2 separate regions of the Homo sapiens genome follow, and region 1 is linked to region 2. The links are contacts of gene promoters, found by promoter capture Hi-C in human tissues and cell types (Jung and others, 2019). All regions are on one chromosome and are shown on one strand. The core of a region is centred on a gene start or on the middle of the fragment in contact, and the rest is flanking DNA. Distances in the headings are between cores, read along the strand shown. Region 1 overlaps CCDC80 (coiled-coil domain containing 80). Region 2 holds the start of BOC (BOC cell adhesion associated, oncogene regulated).

Region 1 (5,607 bases), core at 2,639-5,138, 580 kb before region 2:
TCACAGGGTTAAGAGAGTTTCATAGCCAGGCCCTGGGCACTACGAAACATTCTGTGATTTAGAACTCTTATTAGAAAACCTTGCAGAAAGGTTTTATGATGACTTTTAGGCCTACGTTTTGTCACATAGAATATATTCACTGTCACATTCAGCCTGCACAGAGTTGGTGGTGTTTGTCTTTTGATATTGCAGTTTTCCAACAGGATGTTTTTTACTCTAAGTTTAGCCCTCTCTTTGGTTCAGACCTGGTATTTTTCACCTAGCCCTCTGTCTTTCATCCTCATCCTATGACCCCTGTCTTCTGGGGGAAAAAAAAAAGAGGAAAGACAAAGCAATCAAAAGAAATACTTTAGTCACCAGAAATCTGAGAAAATGTAATTTATTTTGGATACAGTAAGGATAACCCTACTTTTAAGAGGTCCTCTTGAATCTTTTCTCTGAGAACGTCTCACTATTTTTATCTAACCTAATACAAAAGCTTCTCTACTCTCTTGATTAATTTAGCTGCCCTTCCCTGAGCCTTCTCCAATTTTACCAATTTTACTCAATCCTTGAGCTGAAGCTAGAACTCTGTTCCACATCCCACAAGCTAGTGGGCATAATGCTGCTTACCTTGGAGGTGGGAGGATGTGAAATTTTATTGTGATGATGACCAGGTCTTTGTTGAGATCCTTGATCCCAAATAGATCACCAGGCTGATGTCTGCAATGAACGCTGTCTATTTGCCCTTTGTTGCATCATCACTAAGCTCAGAAGCAAACCTCTATAAATCATTTTTCTGTAAACAACTTTTTGCATTTGACTAAATACAAATTTATCAGCCAATTTTCTTGCATTTGACTACATTCAAATGTATCAACCAACTTTCTATTTATCCGCCTAAACTTATAAACTATTTCCGATATTTATGACTATTACCTTGGCATTTTTCAGAGGGCAAATCACCAGGCTGTGTACCTCTTCCAAATATTTTATCAAAAATGGTTAATAAATCTGGTCTCAGCTTGATCCTGCTGTTTATTTTTCTCTGTCAGAGATGTCTGTATTGCTACCTGCAGGCTTTCCCTTCTAAGAATTCTCCCCGCATGACAAAATACTCTCCCTCAAGGAAATTAAACGTGTTCAATAGCCTTTGAATGGAACGTTAACAAAGGTTTTCTGGGATGAAGTTTTTGTTTTGTTTTGTTTTGTTTTTCAGATCATAATTAATTTTAAATAGACATGCTTTAGTTTATTTTTCATGTGTTTCTATGCCTGCTCATACGGACATTCTGGGTAGGAAATGCTTGTTTTAGGAACATAATTTTTTAAGGGGAAAAACAAAATTTCTCCAAATTTATTCATTGATTCACATTAGCCTTAAAACAAGATTAAAGGCAGCTATAAAAAGATGTGGTGATGGTATTTTTAGTTGCTTGGTTTGTTTTTAATTAGCTTTATGGCATCTGAAAATATTTCTTCAGATCTTGATGGGAGCGCAGATACCAAAGTTTTATTTTAAGTTGGTATATTTTAGGTCTTTTTTTCTGACTGTTTTGTGCTCAAAACCACACTATTCTGAAATAAATAAAATGAATGTTTAAGTAAAAACACAAAACAGTAAAAACAAAGGTAAGAGAAAGGGACTTACTGTTCATGGTTTTGGACTCCCTATTCTAAATTAAGGATAAGCCATATTTAGAATATATTTAGAGGAGTTTCTAGGGCAAAGCTGCTTAGATGTTAGATGACAGAAAATTATCTGTTTCTGTAACTTCAAATTCATACATAGATTCCATTTCATTCATACCATACTTTGCCATAGACCCTTACAATCTGTGGACAGATCACGGTATGACAGGATTTTAAGAGTCCTCAACCCTCCTCTAGTCTTCTCCCCCTTGTGTATATTAAGGATATCAGACAGTATGTAATCACACAGAACCTTATCCTCCCCTGTGTGGTAGGTTCTCCCACATAGCTCTATACACAGTGGCATGAGGCCATGGATACCCAGTGGGAATCTCATTTAAATAAATAAGTGCCTCTGATGTTTATTTTCACTGCAGACCCTTTGCCCAAGAATGCCTTTAACCACCAGTGGGGTGACATTCGTTTTGCAGGACTCATTCTCTAACTTCCGGCCCTCCACGTTCTGGCCCCGGGCTCTCTTTTGCTAATGTCCTCCTATACCTCCCTTACCTGACCTCTTTACCCCCTAGAGCCAGACCCAGTCTAAATTAGGAAATGAAAGGAATCTTGGGCAGAGAGGCATAGAGAAAGAATAATTGCAGTCAAAGTCAGGGGGCTGTCATTTCGGTCCTAGTTCAGCTCCTGGCTAGCTTGTAGCCTAAATAAATCCACTTAATCTTCTGAAGCTCAGCATTGTCATTGTTATAATGAATCAACTTTCCTGCCAACCTCATCACGTTGTGAGATCTGAGCAAAAGTAAATATATCTGTATATCTTTATAAGATCATAACATGAACTTATTACAGATTGATTTATTCTTAATAAATAAATATGTGTCCCCCAAGCACATACAGGTATGTCACCTCTGAATAATTCACCCACAATCCTTCCTCTGTCTTTGCCCAAGTCACTCCTTCTACCTCAGAAACCTGCCCCCGCCCTTCTCTAAATCTCATTCTTTCTTTCAATGCATTATCCTCCTTAAAGTCTTTTCTAGCATGCAGGGATCACTTCCTCCTTTTAATTACTGTTCTTTTTGTCTGCCTCGCCCACTTGGAATTTAAGCATTTCCTTCATTTACTATATAACTGTCACATCTCCCCAGGCAGAATGTAAGTTCCTCAGACTCTATTACTGTCCTGCAGATGGTGGGGGCATAAATGCTGGCCAACACTCCTCCGGTTATATAGATCACCCTAGTCAGAGGAGAGGAGAGGGACTCAGGAATAAAGGGGTCCCCTGGTTGTTGTGAATGTCTAGATGCAGGCTACGACTTTACCAGTTGGTGAAAACACTCTCCCTTACATTTAATCTGCTCCTCAAGTTTGCAACAGAGAAAATAGAGAAGACTGACCATCTGAACCCATTTCAGGGACTCTTTCCCTATGTTTTGACATCTCCATCCCATTCACTTTCTAGTTGGGCTGTATTTCAGACAGTGTTTAAAATGAGAACCATTTCCAGTCCCCTCTTCCTAAAAAGAGCAGCTTAAAGCTCCTCAGTAAACACTATTTTCTGTCACTTGGCCTCTTTCCAGTTTGATGGCAATAAATCAGGGCATGTATCATGAATTTAGACCTGTGTTGTATTTCTTTTTCATGGCTTCTGTTCCAACTGGTGTGTTGGCTCAATGAGCCTCAGAGGATAAGGAAGCCTGTTTGCATAAGTAAAGAGAGCAAAGAGCAATGGAAAAAAGCTAGAGGGAAGACACTTTAAGTCTCAGATTATTCAAAATACTGCGTTAGGCTCAAAATGCTAGATTTTTTTTTACAGGATTCTGAAAAATAACTTTCAAGCTAATAGTCTGCCTTAGTACAGCAGGAAACCTTAAATTCTTTCCTAAAATTAAACCAAATAAGTAGATGGTTGTCCTAATACACAGATGTCTGAAGTAAAGTTGGAAATATGAACCCACTTGAATTACAGGAGATTCAGTCACCAAAGAATTCTTAAATTTGCACTTGAATTCATTGAATTCAGCATTTGAGGTCCCTTGTTAATTGACAAGTGACTAGATCTCAGAGCGCAGAATGATGGCTTCTCAGCTATACTCCCCATAGTACAATGTTTTGGTGATAAGCTTACCTATAGTCTCACTATCGTCAACCTCAAACTGACACCAAGCAGACTGAAGAATTAGGTTAACTGGAATCCAATCTATTGTTTTTGACTGACTGTTTGGAAAGCCAGAGAATTGAGTGCAGAGGACTAGCTGCGTATTAAAGGCAGAAACTCCACATTTGTGCTTAGCAATCATTTACCACTTATCTGGGTGACTCAAGGTTGACAATGAATTTTTAAATGTATTTGTATTCATATGTATTAATTTTTTAAATTCATGTTTATTAACTGGCAAGATCATTCCTCAGTTTCCCCTTCACTTTATGGCATATCCCACAGGAAGTTCATACCCAAAAGAATTCAGAAAGGGAGATTGGCCTGAATTTGAGTTTTCAACTCAAACAGATCTGAATTCTAATTCCGACTTCACCACATATTAGCTATATATCTTGGGTAACTTCAGGTTCTGTTTTCTCATGTGTAGAAAGGGGTAAATAAATCATTCCTTGAGGGATTGTTTTGAGAATTAAACCACACAGTCTTGGCAAAGTACCTTGCAGGATGTGCCCTTCTTCGTCAACAGGTTTAGAGGCAGGAGGTTTGAAAGAGTGAACACTAATCTAAAAATAGGACACCTGGCTCCACCTGCAGCTCCTGTGAAGGCCTATAGGAAGCCATCAGCCTGTAACCCACATCATTGCTGTTAGTGTTTCTGTAATTGTTAAGTAGCAGTTATGTGATACGTCCACATCTAAAGAATGCTATAAATAAAGACAAAGCACTAAGGGTTTACAATAAATGGCAGTTAAGTACCAGGTTACTGAAAAGCTGAGAAGATGAGCTGAAAGTCCTGCACAATTTCTTGGAATGTAAACCTGCTTTCAGTCTGAGTATACTGGGTTAAGTTAAGGCCAGTTGGAGGTAGTTGTTCTCAGCCATACTTAAACAGCTTGAGAGCACTAAGCCTTAATGAATAGTAATTGAATCACTGAGCTTCCTGAGTAACATTAGCCAAGTTTGATGGGAAAAGTGAGTGGAAAAGGCTAAACAGCACCAACAATGTTTTTCACCCATTGGTCTCCTCTCTGGCGAAAAATTCTTTTCTCTCCATCTTTTGCTTTGGTATCATGTCTATTTCATTTGGTCTTTTCTAATACATTCTTACTTTAGATATCATTAGCTCTGCAGAAGACACATTTCTGATATGATCATCAGTTGGGCGCACATAGGATCAAAAGTCTGAAAAGCCTTCTGTTAGTATTTTGTTTCTAATAACAAACCTGGTTCTCTCACTAGGCCAAAGAACCAACACTGCCAGGAGCAATTCCAGCTGGTTTCTGTTTTGCCTCACATGACATCAGCAGAAGCTGTCATTTGAGTTTCATTTGCTAGAAATTTATAAGCAGGGATACTGTTAAAAGCAGGATTGGCCCAGCTGGGCTTTCACATCTCCCACTAAGGGAGTGGGGAGAAGGAGGGAGAAATGAAAAGTATGACTAATATCAGGGATACACTGTGAAAACCCCCTTTTTTGACTCACAAACTAGCGGCAATGGGAAATATTTGCCAGAAGGGTGCACAATTACAATCCTGACATTTTACCCATGATTTTGTTTTTAAAACCTGACCATGAGGAACATTTTGCCTGCCCTGTTGGCTAAATGAACAGAGTTGGGTGATGTACTTTAGTGGGCTGGACAAAGTTGTAGGTACTCAGGAGGAGAGCACTGGAGCAAACCACTAATTCTTTCCCATGCCCCAGAGAGAGCAGTTTGCCCCCACAGGCTCCCTAACAGACATTCAAGTATCAGGTAGAGTTTTACTCTGAAATCTGATTTCTTTTTTGTTCTAATGGGAACATTCCCATTTAAATA
Region 2 (5,335 bases), core at 228-2,727:
GGTGCTTGTAATCCCAGCTGCTTGGGAGGCTGACACTGGAGAATCTCTCGAATTCAGGAGGCAGACTTTGCAGTGAGCCGAGATTGCACCACTACACTCTAGCCTGGGCGACAGAGTGAGACTCTGTCAAAAAACAAACAAACAAACAAACACACACACACACACACACACACACACACACACACACACACACACACACAAAACCCCCAGAGGCCCAGAAAAGTTAAGTGACTTTCCAAAGTCACAGTGGCTTCCTGACTCCCAGTGCAGCTGTCCAGCCACACAGGGAAGGCAGCACCCCCATTCACCCTACTACTAGCCTGGCTGTCTTATTTCCAGGACAGCTTCCTCACCAGCTTGGCACAAACTCCCAGTTCACTTTAAACAAATGGCTTAGCCCTGCTGGGACTTGGTTTTCTCAGCTGCAATGAAGATACGGAATGGATGACCGCTCACAACCTGTGCTTCATTCCTAAAAAATAAGAAGGGAATCCAATTTGCCACCAACTCAACATTTGCCTTCTCACTGCCCTGGAAAGGTAGTTTTTAAAACGTGGCCCCTGACCTGCAGCATCAGCATCACCTGGGAACCTATTTGAAATGCAAATTCCCAGGTCCACCTACTGAATCAGAAACTCTGGAGGTGGGGCCCAGCAAAGGGATTTAGCAAGCCTTCCAGGGAGTCCTGCTGCAGATCAAGTTTGAGAACCACAGCTCTGAAAGTTTTCTGACCAACACACACGCGCGCGTGCGCGTACACATACACACGCATAGGTAACTAACTTTTCCGTGGCCACTAGCACCCCCAACCCATGCCCCCAACCCCAGCCCCAGCTCTCCCTCCCCATTCCTCCCTGGCTCCATCCTGGGATGATGAATGGAGGTCAGGGCGCTGTCAATGGACGACGCGGCAAACCCTCCCCAACCGACCGAGGGGGTCGGGGGAGGCTGCGTTAAGGCTTCCCTGAGATTGGTTTCCTTATCATTTTCTCCACCGCCGCTGTCCCATTTTCTGATGAGTTTGCTTTTAATGATTTATCCAACAGTTTGTCTTGCAGAAGAAGAAGACCATTGAGAGGTGGGTGTCAGGAAAGTCTTGGAAGAGACTAGGCGAAAGGAGGGAAGGATTGTACATGGAAGAGCAAGGGTGCGAGGTGAAGCTAAAGAGAAAGTGAAGGCTTCAGGGGAGCCCCCTGGGTTCGGGGAAAAGGGAGAAGATGGTGCTTTTGGTATGGGAAAGCAAAAGAAGTTGGAGGAGAGCGCGGGTCTGAGGCACAGCAAAAAGTGGGTGTTAACGGGAAAACTGCCCTAGAGTTTGGGGGACTTTTTCCAGCTTCCTTTCCAAGACTTTTTCTTTGCTCCATTTTGCTCCTCCCCCTCCTCCCAGCCTCCTCCACTCCCTCCTCCTCCTCCTCCTCGCACGGTAATGGGAGGCTCCTAGGCAGGAGAAGCAAAAGAAGGAATTGTTTGCGAGTTCAGTCATCCAAAAAGCTTCTTCCATATGGAGGGACCGGGTGCGCTGGGCGCGGCGTCCCCTGCGTTGTCCTCCTGCTGCCGCCCCCGCGGCCGCCGCTTTCTGCCGCGGGGACCCTGAGCCCCGGCCCGCCGGTGTCAGCCGCCGCGCGCGCGCACAGACACACACACAGAGACACACAAACACACACAGAAAAGACACACACGCGCACACACGGCGCGCACACCCTCACGCCCGCCACAGCCACAACACGCCCGCACGCGCCCTCCCTCTCCGGCCCGCAACTTCTCGGTCCTCGGCTCCTTTGTTGCTCCAGCCGCGGCCGCTCGCCCGTGTTGTGTGTCCCCGGTGTCACCGAGCGTGTTGTGTGTCCGTGCGGCGCGGCGCTGTGTGGCTCCCTCGCGCCCACCACGCTGGCCCCCGGGCCCCGGCTCGCCCTTCCCAGGCGCCGGCTGCAGCAGAGGTGAGTCACGTCGCTGAAGTTTGTTTTCTTTTCATAAAAAGTTGTGTTTACTGTTGGTTCGGGGAGAGGAGGGGGCGGGAGGCGGCCGCAGGCCGAGGCAGCGCCAGCGAGTGGCTGCCGGGGGACGTGCCGGCGGCGGGAGCCGGGTCCCAGCGCTCGGCCGGGCGCCCGGGGCTGGGAGCTGCGGCCGAGGCTGGGCGCGCCGGGCGCCGGGCGAAGAAGTTGGGGCGAGGCGGGCAGCGGGGGTCCCGGGGGCTGCAGCCGCTACGGGGCCCAGGGGCGCCGCATCTCGTTCCCTGCCGCAGCGGTCTGGCCGGGCGATGGTGGTTTCGCCTCAGCGGTTCCCAGAAGCTTCTCGGGTGGAAGAAGGATCCAGCCAGCCTCCCAAACTTCCACCGAAGGTTGACACCAGCGCCCCGGCCCCATGCTCCAGGCCGTGGGGGGAACCCGAGGCGTGGCGGCAAATGCGTAGAGTCACTCAACACGCACTCGGCCTCTTTGGAGGGTGAGGGTTTCTCATAGTTGGCGTCTTCTAAAGGAAAAACACTAAAATGAGGAACTCAGCGGACCGGGAGCGACGCAGCTTGAGGGAAGCATCCCTAGCTGTTGGCGCAGAGGGGCGAGGCTGAAGCCGAGTGGCCCGAGGTGTCTGAGGGGCTGGGGCAAAGGTGAAAGAGGTGTGTGTGTGTGTGAGAGAGAGAGTTCGTGTGTGCGTGTACGTGTGTGCGCGCGCGTGTGTGCGTGTTCGCGCCAGCAGCGTCCTCCTGGGGTTTTTGTTGATGTAACTGTGAGAAGGTGTGGGAAATGAATCTCTGGAACCAGTGGGACGGGGCTGTGGGGAGGGCAGGGAACCCAGGAAGAATTTTCATGGGGGTGTTGAAGGGCCTGCTTGACTTTCAGGATGTTCAGTATTAATTTGCTTTTCCAGGTGATGGGAGAATGCTGAGGGATGAGAGAGGCAGGCAGACCTGAAGGAGTTAATGGAGCCTCGGGGATTTGTTTGGCAGAGTTTTGTTTTGGGGATGGGGGTGGCAGTGCCAGAGTTGCTTGGAACAGAGTTGTGCTCCTCCAGAGATGTGGCAGTAGAGCTAAGAATACCGAAACCACACACCAGCAATCCCAAACTGGCACTTTTTGGGTGTGGTGGGGTGTTCTGCTGCTCCCCTCATCCCTTCTCTGCAAGTTCAAATGGGTTCGCCTAAGTTTTTGACCCAGAGTTACCTCTTTGAGTGGACTGAGTGAAGATTATATTTTGATTTCAGGCCCTTGTGCCACCTGCAGATGCACTGTGCCCAGCACACATTTGTCACCTAGTTCTTTGTTGTCCAGAACTCGGTACACATTGACCATTGGATGAATGTCATTTTAAAACTTCAGTGTGCAGACATTTCTGATTTATTCCACGACTGGGTCTTAAACAGGCAGCCCAGCTCTGTGATGGTTTTTTTCATCCCTTTGGTTACAGCCAATAAATCAATCTTCGTTTTCTTAAGGGCAGCATGGAAAATATTAAACCACAGTCTTGGGCTGCTTGTGGGGGCTAGGATGCCCATACATCTGGGTGACCTGTTTTCTGAACTTAAAGTAAATCTGAGGCAAGAGGTTAGCCATTTTGAGGTGTGTAACAGGTTTCCCAGAAACATTTCTGAGGTCTTATAATTGGTACTTTTTAATGGTCTCATAATTGAGACCCAGAAGCTTCTCGTGGTGATCTGAAAGCACCTTGGGGTCAGTGGGACAGAGGCCGGGCAGAAACAGCAGTAGAGTTATTATTTTCCTGCTATGAGTTTTTCAAATGAGTTTATGCAAAGAGGTAAAATGAAAGAAAGAAGAGTTGCCTCATTGGGCCACTTTGCTGACACTGTCCTCCCCTGTATAGATTTGTCACTCAGAATTTGGGCCTTGAGGAGGCTGGAGGGTGTCTACACATTTATGAAGCCTGAGGATTGAGACCTCAGACACTGTCTCTTTTATCCTCTATCGAGATACTTCAGAAATGCTTCACTGCAAGAGACATTCGCTAGGGAGCAGTTGTCCCCCACGCCATAGGCCACTGGCTTTACTTGGGAAAAGAGGTTGCTAGAAGCCAGAATGGTTGATTCTTTGACTACAACTGGAGAGGGAGGGTGTGGGGAAAAAATAGAGAGGACTCTGCTTAGCTGTTAATTGGTGAGCCAACTCTTGGTAAGCTGTGTGATTTATGTTCCTTTCCACCCTCCAAATGGGTCCAGAGATTTTCCCTTTTTTTGAAGTGCTTTTTCAAGTGTTTGGGATCCCGGCTCTCTTCAACAACATGGTTTCCATGCCCTAAGAATGAATAAGAGATTTTACCCATGAAATAATTCAGTTGACTTTCACATGGACCCCCCACGGTTTGAAAAAGGAGAGCAAGAAGTGAGCCTGATGTGTCATAGTGTTCCGTGTCCCCTAGGGGGTCTGGGTTCAAATTTCGGCAAAGCCACTGATGTGGGTAATGAATTAGGGTTTATCTCTGTGTCTTTCAAACTACAACAGAAAACTCAGGTGCACCAAATAATTGCTATCCAATACCTTGTGGCCTCTGAATAAGAAAATATTAACTTGGCACCAAAAGATATTATATATTTGGAAGTTGCTTTCTTTCCTCCAAACTCTAAGCCCTCTTGCTGTCTGGGAAAATATGGGACAGGAGAAAAGAATCGAAATTTGAGAGGGAGAGGAAAGAAAATAATATGTTCCATTTAGAAAAATCTATTTACTCTAACATATGTAACTTCTTGTCATCTCCATACTTCAATTCAGCAAACATTTTTAGTGCATCAGGCACCAGGCTGAAAGCTTCCTTGTCCCAGGAAAGTAAGCTTTATTAGTCAAATGATGGTTCCTCCTCAGTTTTTATTTATTGTACAAGCATCTACTTGTAATTAAGAAAATGTTTTTTAAATTATCCACAATCCTATGGACTTGTGTTGCTCATCATGTGCATGCATACTTTTGACATAGTTGTGATAAGAGTATGAACTTTTGTCATCAGACAGCCCTGAAGTGTCTCTACATTTTTGACTAAAGACTCAGAGAACAGATGTAGCCAACTACTTTGCTGTTGGTTGGAAAGACCCAAATCCTAAGTGTGCTCCCACATGGAGCCTTAACATGTAACATTTTCATAATTTATGAGGTTGACTCAAATATTTGGGGTTAGGGGGTGGGATGGGAGAGGGTGTTTGTTTTTAATCTATAAACCCGTGTTTATGAAAAGCTTGCCTAAAGAAGGTTTTGCTTCTTTGGAGCCCTCAGGGTTGGTAACGGATAGAGAAGAGGAGGTGGAATGCAGGAAGGAAGGTTTAGAGGATCCATCTCAAATGGCACTGCCTTTAGGAGGGTTAGGAAACTGGGGTTGGAATCTAAGCTCTGCCTGT

Evidence for each region. The method cuts DNA at HindIII sites, captures the fragments that hold promoters and counts their contacts. A contact is called where the count stands out against the background at its distance.
Region 1: a contact is called between a fragment that was not itself captured here and the fragment with the promoter of BOC in region 2, in 1 of the 25 tissues and cell types used here (lymphoblastoid cells).

What each region holds. Positions count from the first base shown.
Region 1 is chr3:112,630,708-112,636,314 of GRCh38, forward strand. All of the region lies in intron 2 of CCDC80 (coiled-coil domain containing 80), which reads right to left. Among named protein-coding and RNA genes, the nearest start is that of CCDC80, 7.6 kb to the right of the region's middle. The HindIII fragment of the contact is 3,547 bases long and covers 2,116-5,607 here.
Region 2 is chr3:113,210,080-113,215,414 of GRCh38, forward strand. BOC (BOC cell adhesion associated, oncogene regulated) reads left to right here and starts at 1,478. Exons shown (of 20, transcript NM_001378074.1): 1 at 1,478-1,937. LOC124909486 reads right to left here. Exons shown (of 2, transcript XM_047449436.1): 2 at 1-2,201. The coding sequence ends at 1,476. RefSeq lists an enhancer at 1,839-2,490. The HindIII fragment of the contact is 6,739 bases long and covers 1-1,889 here.